Linked DNA regions of Homo sapiens: region 1 is linked to region 2. Evidence: promoter capture Hi-C in human tissues and cell types (Jung and others, 2019). All regions are on one chromosome and are shown on one strand. Each heading gives the region's core, a stretch centred on a gene start or on the middle of the fragment in contact. The rest is flanking DNA. Distances are from core to core; before and after follow the strand shown. Region 1 has its middle 26 kb from the start of GPR55. Region 2 holds the start of SPATA3 (spermatogenesis associated 3).

What was found. Contacts are between HindIII fragments. The study calls those that stand out against the background at their distance.
Region 1: a fragment that was not itself captured here is called in contact with the fragment with the promoter of SPATA3 in region 2 in 16 of the 25 tissues and cell types used here (H1 embryonic stem cells, IMR-90 fibroblasts, adrenal gland and 13 more).

The regions. Positions count from the first base shown.
Region 1 is chr2:230,947,828-230,954,418 of GRCh38, forward strand. It overlaps a transcript of GPR55 not described here. Among named protein-coding and RNA genes, the nearest start is that of GPR55, 26 kb to the left of the region's middle. RefSeq lists enhancers at 2,232-2,281, 2,492-2,561, 2,752-2,801, 2,932-2,991. The HindIII fragment of the contact is 9,664 bases long and covers 1-6,374 here.
Region 2 is chr2:230,993,663-231,000,706 of GRCh38, forward strand. SPATA3 (spermatogenesis associated 3) reads left to right here and starts at 2,459. Exons shown (of 5, transcript NM_139073.5): 1 at 2,459-2,872; 2 at 6,704-6,875. The coding sequence starts at 2,572. It overlaps SPATA3-AS1 (SPATA3 antisense RNA 1), which reads right to left and starts at 2,370. Exons shown (of 6, transcript NR_033879.1): 1 at 2,186-2,370; 2 at 1,615-1,723. RefSeq lists an enhancer at 1,970-2,503. The HindIII fragment of the contact is 25,386 bases long and covers 1-7,044 here.

The DNA.
Region 1 (6,591 bases), core at 293-2,792, 47 kb before region 2:
TTGTGTTCAACTTCAGCTGGTGCCCCCCCTCCAACTCCTAACATAGCCTGCACCCAGCTACAGCGAGGCTTCCTAAAATACAAATCTGGCCCTGTCCTACCTAAGCAGAAACTCGGCATCCCGCCTCACCAGGCCACGGTGGCTTTGGTGTCTGTCAAGCTCCCCATCAGTGGATGAAGCCTGCAGTGCCCGCCCGGCTCCTTTGTGACATGGGTGTGGCCACTGACTTCAGTTCTCTCCAAGAGGTCTTGGGTGCTGCAGTTGCCACCGCCGCCCACCCCCTGGCCGCCCCCACAGCTTCCTCCCTTGGTGAGGCAAAGCACAGCCCCTATGCTTGGTCTGTGTCTCCCGCAGGCCTCTGACAACAGCTGCTTAGGAGAGCTTTCTCAGTCAGCACTGAAAGGGAACTTAGAACCAGCTGAGCTATCAGCCCCTCCAGGCCTGACTTCCCCACTCAGAGCCTCCCCCACTCCTTCCTCCCTCCCCATCTCCTGACCTCTGGGTCTGGGTGGCTGCTCTCCACACACCTCCCAACCGCACTGACCTGGGGAAGCAAGACAGATTCAACAGTCCTGATTTTTGTTTTCACTAATTGCAAAATAATAATAATAGTAATAAATAAATCAAAATAAACCAAAAAGAGAAGGAAAAATTCTCCCATAGTCCCTACCCTATATATGGAATAGAACCTACTTTCTCTCGTTGCCTTTGAGGCTTTGTTTCCAGGCAGAGCCAGCATGACATTGGCAGGCATGGTGAAGAGTCAGTTATATAATTCGGATTTTTTCACTTAGAGCTGTAGATATTCCTTCCATGCCAGTGCAGAGTCTTCATCATTATCCTTTTAAACCACATAATATTCTATTAAATGTATATGCCAGCATTTATTTAACCATTCCCCAATTATAGGTCATTTAGGAAGTTTTTCCTTCCTTTGGGAATTATTGTTTTAAAATATATTCCCTGAGGGTTGGGCGAGGTGGCTCACGCCTGTAATCCCAGCACTTTGGGAGGCAGGGGCAGGAGGATTGCTTGAGCTCAGGAGTTTGAGACTAGCCTGGGAAACATTGGGAGACCCTATCTTTACAAAAAATAGTCCGGTTTGGTGGCGTGCGCCTGTAATCCCAACTCCTCGGGAGGCTGAGGTGGGAGGATAATCTGAGCCAGGGGGGTCAAGGCTGCAGTGAGCTGGGATGGTGCCACCGCACTCCAGCCTTGGCAACAGACTGAGACCCTGTCTCAAAAAATAAAATTAATAAATATAAAATATAGTCCCCAAAGAGGAATCACTACATCAACAGGCCCTAATGCTTTTATGGCTCTTTTTTTGTTTGTTTGTTTGTTTGTTTTCTTTGAGACGGAGTTTCACTCTTCCACCCAGGCTGGAGTGCAATGGCGCAATCTCAGCTCACTGCAACGTCTGTCTCCCGGGTTAAAGCGATTCTCCTGCCTCAGCCTCTCGAGTAGCTGGGATTACAGGCACCTGCCACCACACCCAGATAATTTTTGTATTTTTAGTAGAGACGGGGTTTCACCATGTTGACCAGGCTGGTTTCGAACTCCTGAACTTGCGATCTGCCCGCGTTGGCCTCCCAATGTGCTGAGATCACAGGCGTGAGCCACCGCGCCCATCCTGCTTTTAAAGTTCTTGATAGCTATTGTAAGATTGCCTTCCTGGGAAGAATGGGGTGGATTCCATCAATTCCCCGGCCTAGATCAGCACTTCTCAAAGTGTGGCTCAGGCACTCTGTGGGGAAGGGTGGTCTTGGGACACTTTCTGGGGATCCACAAGGTCAAAACTATTTTCATAATAATACTGAAATGTTGTTAGTATTTCCTTTTCCACTGTCTTCCTTTAGTGAGTGTACAGTGGAGTTTTCTGGAGGCTGTATGCTGTGTGATACCACAATAGACTGAATAGAGATAGGAGAGGCCAACCATCTTTCATAAAGCCCAGCATCACAGAGATCTGTGGAAATGTAAAAATAATGCTTCTCTTCTCACTAAATTTATTTTTTTTTTTTGAGACAAGAGTCTCGCTCTGTCACCCAGGCTGGAGTACAGTGGCACAATCTCGGCTCACTACAACCTCCGCCTCCCGGGTTCAAGCAATTCTCTGCCTCAGCCTCCCAAATAGCTGGGATTACAGGCAACCACCACCACGCCTGGCTAATTTTTCTGTATTTTTAGTAGAGACGGGGTTTCACCATGCTGGCCAGGCTGAACGCCTGACATCGTGATCCACCCTCTCGGCCTCCCCAAGTGCTGGGATTACAGGCGTGAGCCATCACGCCCAGCCAGTTTCTTTGTTTTAATTTCTAACACAGGAAACACTGATAGATATCTACATAGATAAGAGCTTTTTGAGATCCTTAACACTTTTTAAGAGTGTAAAGGGGTCCTGAAGCCACATTGTCTGGGAACCACTGGCCTGCACATGATGTGGCAGAATGCAGAGTGTGCTGGACAGACCTTGTTCAGCCCATCGCCTACCTGCCTGTCTCCCAGGCATGGCACCCAGGACAAGACGCAGAGCAATTAGAGCAATTGGCTTTTTTGTCTTTTTATCTCTTCTTGCCACTTTTATTTTCTTCTCATCTTCTCTTTCCCCTCTTTTTTGTTTTTCTCGTTTTGCTCTTCTTTCCCGCACTCCAGCCTCAGACCTCATAACGAGAGCTGCACAGATAAGGAAACCTTCTCTGCTTCACATAAGTCAAACATTTTTTCTCACATCTAAATAGAGATTCGCGACACTGGAAATAGGTTTTTCATTATTACTAATATCATTCACAAGAAGTGACATGTGTGGTGTTATGATAAGTACACACGTGTTGGCTTTTGTCCACAGTTTCTGGCTCGGAACCCCCATAGTCCCTGTTACAGTCTCGTGTTATGACAGTGGCTGTGTTAGGCCTCAGGAAACAGAATCTCTCTGGCCTTCTCCAGCTCTCCTTTCACCTGCCGCAAGGCAGGACTCGTATCTTCCCCCGCCTTTCTGATTGTGGGTCTTAAGACTCTCCCCAGAGAGGGTTCTGTCCTATGCCCTGAGAGAAGGAACGCTGACATCATGAAGCTTCCATAAAAACCCCAAGAGGACAGGGTTCAGAGAGCTTCCGGAGAGCTGAGCACACGGAGGTTCCTGGAAGCTCCATGCCCCTTCCCCTATACCTTGCCCTGTGCATCTCTTCATCAGTGTCCTTTGTAACATCCTTTAGAATCAACGGGCTAATGTGTTTCCCTGAGTTCTGTGAGTCACTCCAGCAAATTGATCAAACCCAAAGAGGGCGTTGTGGGAACCCCAACTTGAAGTTGGTCGGTCAGAAGTTCCGAAGGGCCAGACTTGTGTCTGGGTCAGGGATAGTCTTGGGACTGAGCCCTCAACCTGTGGGCTGTAAGACTATCTCCAGGTAGACAGTGTTGGAATTGAACTGGAGGACACCCCGCTGCTGTCCGCGGCTTAGTGGGACAACCCCCCACACATCTGGTCCCAGAATTCTCCTTCTGTGTTGATGATTGTTGTCGTGGTGGTGTGAGAACAGAGGAAAAACATGGTTTGGGAGTGTTTCCCTGAAACAATATGCATATTTTTAAAATATACACACGTAATCAAAGAACTAAAAATGAAAATGAGATTTTTTCATACCAACTTGGCAGAGATTTATTAGATGGCAATGCTTAGTGCTGGCAGATGTCTAGGGAAGAGGGCAGCCTATGTGGTTTCTAGAAGGCAACTTGGCAACACATACCAGGGGCCTTAAAAATAGCCTACCCTTTGACCCAGAGGAGTTCAAAAGGCTGACAGCTCCGCTTTGTACCATTCACAACTTAGAGTTGGCTGGGATCTTGACAACTGAGGGTAAGCAGGGATTTTTTTCCCTTTCATTAGGCCCAGAGAAGGTACATTTGTGGGTTTTTTGTTGTTATTGGGGTTTTTTTTTTTTTTTTTTGTGAGACAGGGTCTTGCTCTGTTGCCCAAGCTGGAGGGCAATGGCACAATCATGGCTCACTGCAACCTTAACATCCTGGGCTCAGATGATCCTCTTACCTCAGCCTCCTGAGCAGCTGGGACTACAGGTACATACCACCAGGCCCGGCTAATTTTTTTTTTTTTAATTTTTTTGCAGAAACGGGGGTCTTGCTATGTTGCCCAGGCTGGTCTCAAACTCCTGACTCAAACCATCCTCCTGCCTCAAACTCCCAAGTGCTGGGATTACAGGTGTGAGCCACCACATCCAGCAAGAGAAGGTACATTTGGAGAGGGAGGGGGGGTTACTAGACCTCAAAGATAGAGACGACATGGTCACCTGAGCTCTCATCAGGACATGTGGGCAAACCCTCCTGCAGGCAGCAGGCCAAGGCCTATAGGGACAGGGAAAGCCTGAGGGCGGGCGCAGCTTGTGTGCCAGGAGCCACAATCCTGGTGAGCACTTTGGAATGCTCCTTCTATGCTAAAGTGCTCTCTTCTTATGCCCAAGCCTTCAGTAATAATATTGGATTAAAAGGTACTACCTGGTCTTAGCAGGTGTGATCCAGAAGTCAGCTGGAGCCTGGCCGTGCCTTGAACTCTACATGAGGTTGGCTCATTGTGAGCCCAGAGGGCTAAGGAAGGCCACAGCCCTCCGTGGGATGTCCTGTTGTGTGATCTGGGGATGGCCAATGCCCTCCCAAGTTTTCTGCACATTCCCAGGGCAGGGCTGCTGACACCTCTACAGCCTCTGCTTTTCCCATGGTGCCGCTTGTCAGTTACTTGTCTACTCTTCCAGGAGTCCTATAGAGAACCCCTGCCCACAAGGTGTCATGGGCGTTTCTGAAGCTCAGGGACTGCAGAGAGACAGGGAGATTTCACATCACAGAAACACAAGCTTCCATCGGGCATCTGCACAGCTGAAATGGCCCACGGCCACCCTGTCCCCAGGGAACATCCTCAGGCCGGCCCCCACAGGAGCCAGCCTCTTGGAGGCAGGCTTCTCTCACCTTCTGCCTTCCTGGCCCTTCTCTCTCCCCCTCCTCTTTCCTTCCTTCCAGCAGCTGAAGCCTCTGCATGGTGGCCCAGGTGCTGGCCGATGTCTGCGTCCTCTGCTCCGCCATTTGCCCTAACAGTTGCCAAGGTGTTTCCCCAGCTATGAGGACCTCTGCTGCCAGTTGTCACCATGATGTTTTCCTCTGTTTCAGCTGGGCCTTGGGGAATTAGAGTGATACTTGGGTCCATCCTTGGGTGCAGTGGCTAAGGAAGCATGCGCACCCCAGAAAAGCTAGTTCCCAGGTGGCCAGAAGGAAGGAAGGAGAGGTGGCTGGCTAAAGTGACCAGCAGCAACCAGGTGGAGGTGGTGGTTGTGTGGATCCTGGAGCATTGTTAGGGGCTTCTGAGGTGGGCAGAATAATCTCCCCTGTCCCAGTATGTCTAGGTACAAATCTCAAGAACTGGTGAGTATGTTAAATTACATGGCAAATTAAGGTTGTCAATGGAATTAAGGTTGCCAATTATCCTGGATTATCCTGATAGGCCCAATGTAATCACAAAAGTTCTTGAAGGTAGAGAGTAGGGCAGAAGAGACAGAGGGATAGGATGTGAGAAGGACTCAACCCACTGTTACTGGGTTTGAAGACGGAAGAAGGGGCCATGAGCCAAGGGCTGCAGGAAGAACTGGCTCTGGAAGCTGGAAAGACAGAGAAACAGGTTCTCCTCTAGAGCCTCCAGGAGGACACAGTCCTGCCAGCACCCTGATTTTAGCCCAGTGAGACTTGTGTTGGGCTTCTAACCTACAGAACTGTAAGATAATAAATTTGTGTTATTTTAAGCCACTTAATATATGGCAATGTGTTACAGCAGGAAGGGGAAATAAACACATCTTCCCAGACACTATCAGGGGACAAGAACCTGGTAAAACCCTGTACATCCTGTGTCCCTCAGCTGATTATAAGGAGGGCATTAAAGAGCAGGATCTCCTAGGAAACTGGAGAGGCTGGAAGCATCCAGCATACACATCTGTCCAGTGTGGATCTTCTTAAAAACCAGGAGCATGAGTAGGTGTGAGTCTGCACACGGCCAGGAGATGAAGGCTGGCAGTCCCCTCCACCTCCCCGGTCTCCTGGAACCACCTTCCTGGTGGGGGATCCCCAAGGCGAGTCCTCAGCCTGAGAGGCTCCAAGGTCTGATGAGCAGGCCTGTGGAGCAAGCTTATGTTAGCTGAGCTCATTCTGGAAACCACAGCTTCCCACTGGCTTCTGATCAACGGACCTTGTCTTGCCCAGGAAGCCAAATCGTAACAGAGGGCTTCTGAGCAAGTTCCGAGATGCAAAGGTTTCACAGCCCTGGCTATGCAGCCCCGTAATCGTGCCCACAACAGCTGCCCCTGGCATCAGGTGGACCACGTGCATCCTTGCACCTGGTCTCCTTGCCCCTTCCCCTGACACAGTGTAGATGGCACTGCCAACACCCCATCCAAGCCAGAACTTTCTCTGTGTTTCCACAGTGACAGAGCCAAGCCCCTGCTCTGGGCTGGCTATCATTCTGTGTCCTGAAGAGGACTCGGCTTAACTCTCTTCTAGTTCATTTTCTGTTGGATTTAAAGCTTGGCTTTCAGACTTCAG
Region 2 (7,044 bases), core at 1,209-3,708:
ACAGGAAGACAGAGACTCATTCTCTGTGCCCTGTTTGGCTCCTTCTGGTAAAATGGAATATTTCTTTCATTGCTACCAGGAAGTTCTACCTATATGTGTCTGCTCCTATCTGATTCATTTACACCAACATGGCACAATCAGGGGCAATGTGGACACACACACTCCTACCCCATCTCTAGGGGACATTTAGCAATATCTGGAGACATTTTGGGTTGTCCTGGGGTAGGGGGGAGTAAAGACTGGGTAAAGACCAGGGATCTGGTAAACTTCCTACAATACACAGGATGACCCGCCACAACAAAGAATTACTCAGCCCAAAAATGTCAACAGGGCTGAGGTTGAAAAACACTGATTTAAACCAGGTTGAGGCCCTCGGCCGAAGCCCATTGGTACCTGAAAATCCAACTTTGCAGAGATTAATGCCTTAGGAGTTCCTGAGCTGTCTGCTAGATCTCAACAGGGTTCCCGGCCTCGGTTTCCAGTCTCTCTGATTCTAAATGGAGTCCCCTCAAGGGTTCCATTGCTCTTGGCTTCAGGAAATTACCAGCTTCATACAGATTCACTTGCTCCCAGAGCCTCCTTAGGCCAAGGTCAACCAAACACAACCCAATACTCTTGAGCTGAGCTTGCCTTCACTTCTGATCCTTCCTGCCTTTGTTTTCTTCAATCTTCTCGCTCAGGGACCTTTTTTTTTTTTTTGAGACGAGTCTCACTCTGTCGTCAGGCTGGAGTGCAGTGGCACAATCTCGGCTCACCACAACCTCCGCCTCACAGGTTCAAGTGATTCTCCTGCCTCAGCCTCCTGAGTACCTGGGACTACAGGCGTGCACCACCATGCCCAGCTAATTTTTGTATTTTTAGTAGAGACAGGTTTTCACCATGTTGGTTGGCCAGGATGGTCTCAATCTCTTGACCTCATGATCTGCCCGCCTCAGCCTCCCAAAGTGCTGGGATTATAGGCGTGAGCCACCGCACCAGGCCACTGGGGGACTTTTTAATTCATTATTTCAAAGCCTGTATAATTATCTGACTCCCTATTGTTTTCTGGGATCATGAAAATAATGAGCCCCAAACTGGAATTTAGTCCTTCCGATGCCCCCAGCCAGCTGTGTGACCCTGGGAAAGTAACTTAATTTCGCTAAACCTCAGTGTTCTGAGGAAAGGTCATCATTAAGGTATTTTTAGGCTCTAGAAGCCCTAAACTATGTCCTGTCATTTCAGAGTTCATGTTGGGTCTGGCTTTGTGTGGCCCAAAGCCCCCCATTTTTTTTTAAGACAGAGTCTCGCTCTGTCGCCCAGGCTGGAGTGCAGTGGCACGATCTCGGCTCACTGAAAGCTCCACCTCCAAGGTTCACGCCATTCTCCTGCCGAGTAGCTGGGACTACAGGCACCCACCACCACGCCCGGCTAATTTTTTGTATTTTTAGTAGAGACGGGGTTTCACCATGTCAGCCAGGATGGTCTCAATCTCCTGACCTCGTGATCTGCCCGCCTCAGCCTCCCAAAGTGCTGGGATTACAGGCGTGACCGAAGCCCTTTTTATCTGCATAGGTCTGCTCTAAACCTTCCGCTGGGGCAGGAGCTCCTGCGCTTGCCAGTCCCACACTCACCCACCTGTGACACACTGGCGATGAAAGCAGTCTCCTCAGGTGAACACATTTTATGTTGCAGTCACAGTATGAGCTTCAGATTGTCTTTTAAAAATACTTTTCCTTCTTCCATCCTAAAACAAAAATCACATTTAATGAGCACATTAAATTAATTAATCTAGAGAAAGATTCAGTCACCTGTTTAACCCAACCAATTGGGGTTTGGGAGATAGTCTGTGGTTGCCATTGCCATGAGTTTGAGACAAATGTTAGTTTTCTGAACAGCTGTTATGTTCTCAGGGAAAATTATCTGCCAAATGCAAAGGTTCTTATAAAAGTCAAGTCAACCCCCAAACTCCCCTCCCACAGTGCGGGAGGGCAGGCTTTGGGGGAAGGGGTAAGCTACTCTGAGATGGTAGCAGGCTCTGGGCCATGGTAAAGCCTTCGAAGAAGCTCCAAATCTTCAGGAAGCTGACCTGAAGATGAATGCGTGGGGAACATGGATTTTTGAGGTGTAGGAGTAGGGGGTATGTGGAAGCCAGTGACAGAGCTGAGCGTCACATCCAGGGTATCTTAGAGCAAAACAGGTAGCTCACATGGACCCAGGAACACGCCAGCAGAGAGGTGTCTGAAGGCAGCGCTCAGGTCGCAGAAGCATGAGGATCTGGCTGTCACCAGCCCCGTAGCCAGGGCTGTGAGGACCAGGGCAGCCGCTGTCCCCTGCCTAGCCTGGCAGCCTGGGATGAAGGAGGACACCAGGCTGGTGTCTGCAGAGAAGACTGTCCCTTGAAGCCCTGCCATAGGAGCCACCCTGGCTTTTATGACCTCACAGGAGGTGTGGGTCACTGTTCTCTGTGGGGCCTGGGTCCAGCTGGAGGCCCAAGCCAGGCTCCTAGGGCAGAGGGCAAACGGCCCCTCCAGGAGGGAGCCGGGAGATTACGCAGCTCCATGTAGGTCCACGTTTAGGTTGGGAGGATCTACCATGAAGAAGGTCAAGAAGAAAAGGTCAGAGGCCAGACGCCACCGAGACTCCACCTCCCAGCATGCTAGCTCCAATTCCACCTCTCAGCAGCCTAGCCCTGAATCCACACCACAGCAGCCTAGTCCTGAATCCACACCACAGCAGCCTAGCCCTGAATCCACACCACAGCATTCCAGCCTTGAAACCACCTCCCGGCAGCCAGCATTCCAAGCCCTTCCAGCACCCGAAATCCGCCGCTCCTCTTGCTGCCTTTTATCTCCAGATGCTAACGTGAAGGCAGCCCCTCAATCCAGGAAAGCAGGTGGGCTGTCTTCTAGCTTCAGCAGTTCCAGCCTTCCTGCTGATGGAGTTCTGGGTCATCCCAAAGGCTGGTTCTTGTAGGATAGTGATGCATGGTTAACGTGTATCCTGGAGCTGTGCTGTAGAGTGGGAAGGTTTTTGTTTTTGTTTCTACCCAAGAGACCAGGATTCCTGGGTTTTGTCATTTCTCATCATCCTGAGTCTCACTGAAGACAGCCACACATACATATAAACATTTAACTTGGTTCCATAGTAATACTTGCTCACTAGGAATCAGCAGTGCCATGCAACTGCTAAAAAATAAAAACCAAGGATGCATTTATAGAAGTATATGGTTTAGAATAAGGGAGGTGATGATACTGCTTTATTCTGTCCTCATCAAGCTATCCTTTTGGGCTGTAAAAGATGCCTGACAAACTAGTCCAAGGAAGATAGTCTGGGTTGATGGAGGATGAGAAGGATCAGGGAGACCATTTAGTGTATGACAGTCAATTGAAGGAATTGGAGGATGTCTGTCTGTCAAGTGGAAGATGTGAATAGACTTGTTCCTTATTGTCCTCAGAGATCTAAGGGTCTGATGTGGTTTGGCTGTGTCCCCACCCAAATCTCTTCTTGAATTCCCAGGTGTTGTAGGAAGGACCCAGTGGGAAGTGATTGAATCACGGGGGAGGGTCTTTTCCGTGGTGTTCTCGTGATAGTGAATAAGTTTCATGAGATCTAATGGTTTTAAAAAAGGGAGTTTCCCTGCACAAACTCTCTTCTCTTGTCTGCCGCCATGTGAGATGTGCCTTTCACCTTCCACCATGATTGTGAGGCCTCCCCAGCCACGTGGAACTGTAAGTTCCACAAACCTCTTTCTTTTGTAAATTGCCTAGTCTCAGATATGTCTTTATCAGCAGTGTGAAAACAGACAAATACAGGCCCATGGATAGGATAGCCAGACAAAATACAAGACTCTCAGTTAAATTTTAATTTTAGTAAACAACAAATAATATTTTTAGTATGTGTGTCCCCAGTATTGCATGGGCATCCTATATTTTTATTTGCTAAATTAGCAATCTTACCCATGGAAGACATTAGTGACAGAAAGCCTTCGGCTCAACATAAAAAACTTCCCAACAATTAGCTCTGTCTGAAAATGGAATGGCTGTCAGGAAAAGTGGTTCCCTGTCTTCTTGGGAGCCAAACAGTGTCTGTATAAGCATTGGATTGTGTAGAGGGAATTCAAGTGGAGTTCAGGAGGTGGGCTGGTTTATACTACTAACAATAATGGTGATAGCAAACTAACATTATCACTAAGCATTTACTGTGTACCTAGCATTCAGATCAGGTGTCTTAATTTTCACACGTGATAATCCTATAAAAGTTCTTCCATATTATCTCCATTTTATAGATGGGGAAACTGAGGCTCATAGGAGTCAAACAGGTTGCTCCTGAGCAGACGCTGGTAGCCCTGAGAAGGGAAACCCACTCTATTCTGACTCCAGAACCCTCACTTTAAACCACAGCACTGACCTTTCCATTCCAAGAGGCCTAGGAGTCTCCACAAGAGGAAGAACATCTCTGTCCGAGCATCTCCTGGATCTGCCATGAGCCAGTGCCCACGACTCCATAGCCTTGAACAGGCCACACTCCCTGGGCCACAGTTTACCCCCCGGGATTGTGTGGGCATAAAATAAATAAGTGATGGAGATGAGAGTGCTAAATATAAGGCATGCCATGCCAATGATCCTTCCATGGCCAGGAATCAAACCTTTCTTGACATATGATATTGATTTTGAGCACCATACTATATGTTGTAAAGATTGTGATCATCAGCCAGTGAGAGAAACATTTCTGGGTTATGATCTTCAGAACTGGCATCTTCAGTACTGGTAGAAAGCAAGACTTTCCATTCCCAAGTCTTTTAATGAACACATGTGACTCATACTCAGAGAAGAATTTGGCCCATTGAACAGGCAAAGCAAGAAAGCAAGAAATGGTGGTGGCTCGCCAGTGGTTACAGCAGACACCCTATACTTCTTCCAAAGGAATTCTCTGCGTAGAAAGGAATGTTGGAGATGAAGGATGAGGGCCTGCAAGTAAAGCGTGCCATTTTCTAAAATCCAAGCCTTTTTGTGTGCAGAAATATTGTAGCTCAAGAAAATGCCAGTCTTCCACTAGGATGGGTATAATCAGAAGGATGGACAATAACAAGTGTTGGTGAGGATGTAGAGAAGCTGGAATCCTCATACACTGTAGGCGGGAATGTAAAATGGTGCAGCTGCTGTGGAAACAGTCTGGTGGTTCCTCAGAGGAACATGAAGTTACCTTATGACCCAGCAATTCCACTTCTCAGTATACATCCAAGAGAATTCGAAGCATCTTATTAAGCATATTAGAAGCACACCAAAACTTGTACACAAATGCTCAAAGCAGCAGCATTTGTAATAGCCAAAAAGTGGGAACAACCCAAATGTCCATCAGCTGATGAATGGATAAACAAAATGTGGTATGAAATACCACAGTACAATGAGTATGGTGAAATACTATTTGGCAATAAAAAGAGATAGTGTCCTGATACATGGTACAGCCTGGATGAACCTTATAGACACTTGGCTAAGTGAAAGAATCCAGTCTCCCAGAAACCCACACATCGAATGATTCTATTTACATGAAATGTTCAGAATAGGCAAATGTATTGCCAGGGACTGGGGGAAATGGGAGAGTGGGGAGTAACTGCTCATGGAGATGGGGTTTCTTTTTGGGGAAATGAAGACGTTCTGAAATTAGTGGTGATGGCCACAAAACTTTGTGAATATACTAAAAACCACTGAGCACTCTAAAAGGGTGAATTTTATTGCCTGGGAATGATATCTCAATTTAAAAACTTTTTTGTAATTAAAAAAAAAGACAAGTCTTGCCTTTAGAATCCCCTCTCCTCATTCCGGGAAAGTACGTGTCGTGGGCAAGTCTAAGCAGAAAGTGTATTGAATCTGCCAGGTTGACCACCTGTTTCATGCAGCTTAGGGTCAGAAGAATCTGTAGCTCTGTCAAGAAGACGCAGGGCTACAGATAGGAAACAGGAGGGAATAATCCAGCCAGAAATTATCTTGCCCAACCACAGAGGGCATCATCTACATTCTGCTGGGATCCATACCAGAGGAGGACAGAAACAGAAAATAGGATCGGGACTGGAAACTAGAGCTGTGGTTGTCTTCTGGATGGATCAGAATGCTCTAGATCAATGGAACGTGGCAGCTCCAATTCCAGGAATGTCAGTGCAGCCTCTCCTGAGGTGAGCAGTCACCTGAAATTCCATTTTCACTGAATTAAACGTGAGAAAGCCTGAGTTGAGAAAGCCAACTTCTGTAATCTACTCCCCAAAAGGGCATATCCCTTAAATTAGCTGAGCCTCAGTTTCCTTATTTGTAAAACAAGACCAGCAGTATCCCCTTTACAGGATTACTGTGAAATTAAATGAGATGAGCATGCTAAGTGCAAAGCATCCTGAAGGTGTAAGCCATGGCACCATCAGCACCACCTCCATCATCATCATCGTTGTTGTCGTCGCTGTTGCTACTCCCAGGTAGCACCAGTATAAAACAGCCATTTTCCCATGCGGTCAGTCTTCTCTTCTGTTTGGTTAGAGAACATTTTGTGGGAGAACTGCCTTCCTTAGGTAGTTCAGTCCCAAATCCTCAATGATGCCTTGGAAAAAATCCAGCGTTCGCCCTGGTAATCCTGCAGCTGCTGCCGTTGTGGGGGGCCTTCTCAGACTGTGTTCCAGACTCCCCCGCCCCAGCCTCCCAGGGCAGGTGCCTCCCTCACCTCTCTCCTTCTGTCCCCACAGGGCCTCTGATTCGCGCCGGCCCGCATTCCTGCTCCTGTGCCACTTGCCCCTGCAGCTCCGCTTGCTGGCGTCGTCTGGGGCTATGCCATAGCCGCATCTTCGATGTCCTTCTGCCTCGGGACTGGCAGATGGCGCCAGGGAGAGGACTCCCCAACCTGCTCACCTTCTACAGGTTCCAAGCGCGAGGGGCTGGAGCCTCGGGGCACACAGTCCCCAGGGCCAGGCTCTGCCCCCAGACCTTATTAGCAATCATGTATCACTTCCTCTTGGGAATCCCAGGCCGAAGGAAAGCCTTTCTTTCCCTCTTTGCTTTGCCCACTTCCTGGACGTTGGCAGGCAGG